2 separate regions of the Homo sapiens genome follow, and region 2 is linked to region 1. The links are contacts of gene promoters, found by promoter capture Hi-C in blood cells and fetal thymus (Javierre and others, 2016). All regions are on one chromosome and are shown on one strand. Each heading gives the region's core, a stretch centred on a gene start or on the middle of the fragment in contact. The rest is flanking DNA. Distances are from core to core; before and after follow the strand shown.

Region 1 (4,026 bases), core at 440-2,939:
AGAAGCTCATCCATTCATTCCCTCAAAAAATATTTATTGAACATATATTACACTATGTTCCAGGTACTATTCAATCTCAGTGTTTAGTAAACACCACAGTAACATGGGATTTGGTTAACCAACAGAAGTGTTTAAACAGGATGAGTACAAAAATAAGTACAAAATGAGAAGTACTATAAAAACGATACTTTATATGTTACAACTATAGCACCCACCTATTTCCTTGTGTCTAGTAATTGGCAGGACCTTATGACAAGAGCCAACTGAAAAACAGCAGTATAAATTCTGGTACTCTAAAAGCCCAGACTTCACCACTGTGCAATATATCCACACAACAAAACTGAACTTGTACTAACTAAATCTGTATAGAATTTTAAAAAGTAAGTTAAAAAAAATTCTGGTACTCACAGGGGACAATACCTATGAATGCCCTTTTCATAGGCACACAGTGACTAAAATATTTGGGGCATGAATTCTCTAGGGGTGACAATAATAAGTGTCATTTTTCATGCTTCTGTTGCACACATAATTATATTTATCTCTAAGGAAAATCAGAGAGTGGGGTGTGGCCTCCCTCAGTGCCACCTGGGCCAGTTGTCTCCCCACATCACCAAATCTGTTATTTCACAGGCTCTAGGACACCCATAGAGGGGGAGTGAGGGACCTGGTATGGTCCCGTGAAGAGCTCTTGTAACACTACTGATTGATGTGACAGACACAGTATGTGTGCAACTTTCCTTTTTCCTTCAAAAGCACTGGTCTAAAGCAGGGATCCCCAACCCCTGGGCAGCAGACAGGTACAGGTTTGTGGCCTATTAGGAACAGGCCACACAGCAGGTGAGCAGGGCTAGAGGATTATGCCTGAGCTCCAGCTCCTGTCAGATGAGCAAAGGCATTAGATTCTCATAGGAGCACAGACCTGATTATGAACTGCGCATGTGAGGGATCTAAATTGCGCCTTCTCAAGAGAATCTAATGCCTGATGATCTGAGATAGAAGAGTGTCATCCCATCTTGCCCCCCACCCCAAACTGTCTTCCATGAAACTGATCCCTGGTGCCAAAAAGGTTGGGGACTGCTGGAAGTGCTTGTCCCCTGGGTTAAAGCCAAGAGGAGTAAACAGGATTAAGGGGCGTGGATGTGGGTGGGTGGGGGAAGAGAGCTTTCTCAGGATCGGCAACCAATCCCAGAATCTCCAGTCGCAGGAGCATGTATGTGAAGGTTTATTTGCAGGGATCCACCGTTTGTAAAATAGTACACGCTTAATAAAATTAATTTTGAGGTCAATCTTAACTGACAGATCTCTTCTTTCTTACTGGCGAGTATTTGTAAAATAAGAAAAACAGGAGGAAAAGAGAACAAACAAGAGAGATGTGGGATGACGGAGTAAGGAAAGGAGTCACGGAGAGGAGAGACAATGTCTGTGGCTGTTCCCTCAGCGTCTGGGAGAAGAGCCCAAGAATCCCATTGAACTGAGGGGGAGGAAAGGCCCTCCTGCGGCCTACCGCAAGGAAACGATCGCGGCAGACCCGGGACTAGCGCCAAAGGGCTTGGAAGGGCGGCGTTAAGAAAAATGGGCCGTACCTACAACTTCTTTCGCAGCCCTCGCTGGCCCGGGAGCGGCCCAGGAGCCCAGTGACCGTTGCGTAAGCCACGCGCCACCCAGGTGGGCAGGGTGGTGACGCGAAAGCCCGGATAGACTTCCGCGCAGGGGCGGGGCGGGGCGAGGAGGCGGCAGCGCGTTTAAGTGACGTCTTGGCTGTCCGCGCCGGCAGAGGCGAGGGTTCTGGGGTTTCTGGGACTGTCTGGTGTGTTTTCTGTCTATTGAACCCTTTCCTTTCGACGTCTCTTCTGAATATTGACTCATCGGGTTGTAGAAATCCAGGGACAGAGTTGACATCACTGGGCATTTTAGCCAAAAAGCAGTGCTCGGGACTGCATGTGCCAGAAGTAAACTTGTCAAAACTCAGATTGTGTTTCCCCTAAAGTCAGCTTAAAGTGCAATGGTAGAAGAGCACGGTCTCTCCCCAAGACGGCCTGAGCTTAAACTGCAGCGCTGTCACTTGCTAGCTATGGGACCTAGGCAAATACATCGTCTCCCTGAGGTTGTCTTCTCATCTGTAAAGGACGCTGTGGTGGTGGTGTGAGAATAAATGAGACATGGCAAGTGTCTGGAACAAAGACGCTGTGTACAAAGTAAACACTTAATATACTGTTATCAGTATAAAACCTTTGTGAGTTTTTTTTTTTTTTCCGCATGAAATCTTATGTGGAAAGTTGTATGTGAAAGAAATGAAAGCGGAGCTGCGTTGATGGTGGGCCCAGAAGCTTTGGCCTTTCAGTCCCAAAGTTTCCAGTAATAGAATCCGCGCTTCCTATAAAAGACAAAAACAACTGTTATTGGAGAAAGTGTAAACTTCTTAGAAAGACAAACTGCCCTTTCCTATCTAATGTTTCTCCTGACACTCAATGTTTACTCTTGAACACTGTATTCCTTTTTGCCTCAGTGCGTTCTGTAAAGTTAATTCCTCTACCGGAGTGTTCTTTTTCTTAGTCATCATCTAAGATCTGATCCAAATTACCGTTCCTTCTTGGGTAACTTAAATACGAAATTATCTTTTTATTGGTTTTGTTGACGTTGTTGAGACAGGGTCTCACTCTATTACCCCGGCTGGAGTGCAGTGCGATCTAGGCTCCCTGCAGCCTCCTCCTCCTTGGTTCAAGCGATCCTCCTGCCTCCTGAGTAGCTGGGACTACAGGTGGGCACCACTACCCCCGGCTAATTTTTGTATTTTTAGTAGAGAGGAGTTTCACATATTGCCCAGGAGGACTTGAACTCCTGGACTTAAGTGATCTGCCCGTCTTGGCTTCCCACAGTACTGGGATTACAAGCGTGAGCCACCACAGCCCTGCCCTTTTTATTGTTTTTAACACCTTCCCTCCTTCAACGTGTTATAGACATCTCAGCAAGGATTTATTTTTCTTCCTCGTTTCAGGAGAGTAGACAGGGTTTCATGATTATAGGGTTAAGGAAATGTTTTGTACTCATGAAAAGGAAATGTTTTGTACTCACAGGAAAAGCAGGTAGATCCCTAAAGATAATGGGAGTTGGGACAAATGGTAAACCTGGGAAGGAAGACCTTTGCTAGGAGTCTGTTTGCCTCCAAGGCACTACTCTTATGCTCTAGAAGGAATGGGCTCCTGGAGAGGTAAGTGCTTTAGGGTCCATGTAAGGAAGATGGAGCGCACATCAACAAATGGAGTTTTGGAATTCTCACCAGGCCAGAGGGCTCAGGCTGGATTTGAGTCAGTCAACTATAAATATAATATTACGTACTCCCCAAATGCCATGAAGCAATTCCCACTTGTTACAGAGAGGTACATAAATGATTCATATAAAAATATAATGTTCTGAGACATTAAAAAAATACAGTGGTTCTTTGGGAGACAATATAATGAAAATTTACTAATAAAAAACATTTAAACAATCATCTGATAACCTTTCTTATAAAAATTAAGTTTTAAAAATAAGTAAATTGATTATATTTGCAACAAAGTCATGGAAAGCAAAAGCTTTTGAGGAATAAGGAGAATCTTAACTGAGAGCAATTTTTTAAAACTATACATGACATGATAAAAAAAGTTTTAACACTTTCTACATAGTTTCATACTTCTGAAAGTACTTCAATAAAAATATTTAGCCAATGATCTATTTAGTATGATTTCAGTGCCAACTTTCTTTTCTAGTCTTATCTCTAATTCTCTTCATCAATCTCAAGTGCCAATCACTTTCTATGCTCCAGGCTTTACTGTTTTCAAAACTTTGCTAATATGCCAGCCTCCCACACTAGTTGTTCCCATCTTCACCTTACTCCCTAATATTACCCCATCCATCCAGATCCTCTCCATTCTTGAAGGTCTAGTTCAAGTATCAGTTCCTCTAAGATTTCCTCAACTTCTACACTAAAAACACTTTTGAATTATTCACTTGGATTATAGCTATTTGTACATATCTTATTTCCTTCTA
Region 2 (4,026 bases), core at 1,064-3,563, 1.8 Mb before region 1:
TGTTAGGCTTTAATCTCCTGGACCCTCAAGGCTATAATTTTTCCTGGTAATTCTAAAGCCACAGTTAACTACATAACAGAGAGCATCAGTCAGAATTTAAAAAGCAAAAGCAATAAACATTTTGCATGTTACTACAAATAAATAAATGGAATTTAACTAACTGGAAAGGAGTTAAGGGCTGGGAAAGAATATCATGGAAGTAGGGTGAGAGGTGAAAAAAAAAAATAACAACAGGAGACTGCCTTCATATTTGCCAAAAAATGTTCACCATGCTTGGGTCAACCTCACACCTAGCATCTCTTCTCTACATGTCTGCACTTTTCTTAGATATACCTATACTTGGATTTTACTAAGAAAAGTAACAGAATAATCACGTTTCATCTACCTTCACTCAAAAATTCTTGCCCAGCCTATAATTAATCATTCTTATCTGTTCCCCAAATATCTTAAGCTTTCAAAATTCATTCAATTTATTTAAACTCTTATTTATTGAGCACTCTTATTTACTGATACATTTACCAATATATCTGTGAAACTGACACAAATCCCTGCCTTCAAGGAGCTCGCATTCTAGTCTAGTCAAACTTATTTGGGCAAATAATCATTTTGGTATTTTTTAAAGTACTAAAATTCAATCCCATTTAAAAAGGAATTAACTAGCATCTACAGGAATACTTAAATATTTACTGTTTTACTTACTATCACATTTTTCCAAGTAGCTATCAATACTCACCCAAGGTACACAGAGAAAAGTCCTTTGGGTGGTTGTCAGTAGTTTACATTCCTTCCCTGCCATGTGTGAAATCTCCTTTCTGTGTCATTTGAAAGCCATCCGTTTTTACCTTGGTGTGTGAATCGGGGTCATCTGTGGAGCTTCTGAAAAGCAGAGCTCAATTCAGACTTACTGAATAACAATCTCCCACAATAGGAGCTAAACATGTATATTCTTTAAAGCTCCATAGTTGGTTCTGATGCATACTCGTTTATGAACAATTCTTTCAAAAAAAAAAAAAAACCCTTCAAAGAAGGTTGACAGCTTAGGTAAATACTATGGTTAAAAGAGAACTTGCCTGTGAAGTTCCGCTACATGACAATAGTAATAAAAATAATAATAGCTAAATCTTATTGTGCACTCACTGTATATCTTGCACTGTTCTAAACTGTTTCCCAATGTTCCTTCTTTCAGCCCTTCTAAAACTATTATTATCCCCATTCTGCAGGAAACTGGAACATGGAAAGGTTAAGTAACTCATGTAAAGTCCCAAAGCCCAGTAGGCATAAGGCTGGATTATGAACCCTGGCATAACTCTAGAGTGCCCATGCTCAGTCATGACTTTGTAGAAGAATTTATTCTCACCATTCATTAATTTACTAATTAATTTACTTGGTAAAAAACAGGCATAGGTATAAGAGACATAAATATGTCTCTAGTTTTCCTCTGTAATACTTACCACAAATATATGCAATTGTGTAATCTGTTTAATACCGATTTCTGCTAGGATATAAGGATTATGAGAAAATGAGCATGTCTCTCATTTACTATGTCACTGCCATATATAGCACAATGCCTAATGCATGACAGCATTCAATAAATATTTGTAGACTGACTGATTCAATGAATGAATGATAGTCTGTAGACTACAGCTGTGTATTTCTTATTAAACGAGTCATACTTGTAAATGACTTAATCCAGAGCATTAGTGCTCTATCAAAGTACTGATGGAGAGCAGTGGGAGAAAGGAAGAAACAAAATGCCATCATATCCAGAGTACCGCTTGACTCTCTCAATAAGCCCATGACAGGCAGTGGAGGTATTATTATCCTATTGTAAGGGAAAAAATCCTCAACATGAGTATGTCTAGAAATTCATGCTATATTCCCACAACCTGAGCATAGAACCAGAGAGATTGGTCCAAATCCCATTTCTGACACTTCTATCTGCGGCCTTAGACAAGCTCTTAACATTACTGGCTTCAGCTATTTCATCTACAGAGAGAATTATGTACCCATCTTGCTTCTAATTCACTGATATATTCCAAAAACTTACAAGAATACCTAGAATATAGTTGGTGCTACATTAATTACCAAATTGTGAGGTTATTTAGGACCTTAATTATGAAAACATGTAAAAAAGTATTCAGCACTGTGACTAACAGAGTTAGTCACAGTTCCCTTGTGACTAAATGTCCCCAAAATGTTTTCCTCACTTTCCTTTCTTTTAAAATCTTAAAACGAGTCTTTGTCCCCCTTCCTCATTTCAGACTCCTTTCTAAGCACATGTGGTCCCTTCTCTAATGAGTCTTAGGAGGTTTAGCCCTATTTCCATGAAATCACCTAGTTTTCTAATGCAGAGGGAAGCTGAATCTAGTTTTTAAATCAGGACAAATTCTAACTTACAATGGGAATTCATTTGCTTTCTTATTCCCACAAGACATATTAAACATAACTCTCTAAGTTCTCATTCTTTCTAAAACCCACGTCCTCACTTAAATATATTTTTTAATGATCCTGTAAAAAAAGGCTTCAAAACTTGCAATGCTACTTTATTTTCACAATTCAGACTAATAAAATCAATTAACTACAAGGCACACATTAGATTTGTTTGCACTGAAGAACAATTAACTGGACATTTAAATCCAGCATTCCCAGATTTATGATAACCCACATGTACACGGAGCTCCACAAGCCAACTTCCCTCCTCAGACTCCTCTCTACAACTTCTTCCTCTTAGTGTAAAAGTAGAGCCATTGGGCCAGTGTAATAATAACACAGCCCAGATTCTAAAGACAGATTCTGGGCACTGACAGTGGCTTTTAGGGATTAATGGAACAGGGCTTTTGCCTTTATTGGGGGATGAGGGGGTGAGGGGTGTAAGTGAAATGTCCTATAAGCTCAGGTACATTTCAATGAGGAATAGATGGATGTGTGGTAGGCAGGGTGTTTATTTGGCCTGTGGTAAGAGAGAGGCTGTGCTTGGATGTACAAAAGTTTGCAAACCTAGTGGTTCACAATTTGAGTGCTAAGGAAAAAAAAAGATCCAAACTTTAGAGGGCTTTTTTTTTCAAACAGCAAAGTGAAACACTAGGTCGTTTCTGCAATTATATCCAGCCCTAGCAATTGACATTTTTATTAATTGCTAAAATGTAACAGTATCATATTTACACTACACACTTATTCTTATCCACTAGAAAGACAGTGATGTCAGGATTTATATAGCTAGAGACATGAAAATGGACACAGAGATGAGGTCCCTCTGCAAGCATACATAAGTTTTAAATAACAGTTTAGCAAAGATGTCTTCCATCCAAATAATTTTAATTTTTCAATCAAAAAAATTCCTGATTTAGCTAAATTAATATAATAATAACCTCTCTGTTTTATATTTGGAATTTTGCATTTAAATATTTCATTAAGAAAAAAAAGAGCATGGTGGATCATGCTTGTAATCTTCACATTTTGGTAGGCCAAGGTAGGAGGATCACTTGAGGCCACGACTTTGAAACCAGTCTAGGCAGCAGAGCAAGACCTTGTCTCAACAAAAAAATTTAAAAATTAGCTGGGAATGGTGGTGGGTGCCTGTAGTCCCAGCTACCTGGGAGGCTGAGGCATTAGGATCACTTGAGCCCAGGCATTCGAGGCTGCTGTGAGCTATGACTACACCACTGAACTCCAGCCCGGGCAACAGAATGAGACCCTTTCTTAAAACAAATAAACAAACAAACAAACACAAAAACTACGCCCCCCCCACCCCGCCAGAAAAACAAACTAACAAAAAAAACCACGTTGTTAACAAATAGTTTGGAAGTTACTGAAATCAATCAACTTTATATTTTCAAAATCTTTTAATATACTATGGCTCTATTAAATATTTATGTTTTTATCAATAAGATTGTCTCCTTCAGTATTGCTTAAAATTGGCTCTTTTGAAACATGAACCTAAACGATGTATTTTCAAGGAAGTGAAACAACCACACCATTTGTTAATTTTTTCATTAAGATATCACAAAATTAATTGGGGTTAGGGAA

The links. Contacts are between HindIII fragments. The CHiCAGO score rates a contact against its expected background, and 5 or more counts as called.
Region 2: a contact is called between a fragment that was not itself captured here and the fragment with the promoter of SLC9B1 in region 1, in 3 of 17 cell types (naive CD4 T cells, naive CD8 T cells and total CD8 T cells). The highest score is 6.5, in naive CD4 T cells.

What each region holds. Positions count from the first base shown.
Region 1 is chr4:103,018,016-103,022,041 of GRCh38, forward strand. SLC9B1 (solute carrier family 9 member B1) reads right to left here and starts at 1,690. Exons shown (of 12, transcript NM_139173.4): 1 at 1,584-1,690. It also overlaps a transcript of SLC9B2 not described here. RefSeq lists an enhancer at 1,531-2,031. The HindIII fragment of the contact is 6,332 bases long and covers 1-2,325 here.
Region 2 is chr4:101,170,351-101,174,376 of GRCh38, forward strand. The region is part of intron 2 of PPP3CA (protein phosphatase 3 catalytic subunit alpha); the gene reads right to left. Among named protein-coding and RNA genes, the nearest start is that of MIR8066, 69 kb to the right of the region's middle. The HindIII fragment of the contact is 3,729 bases long and covers 450-4,026 here.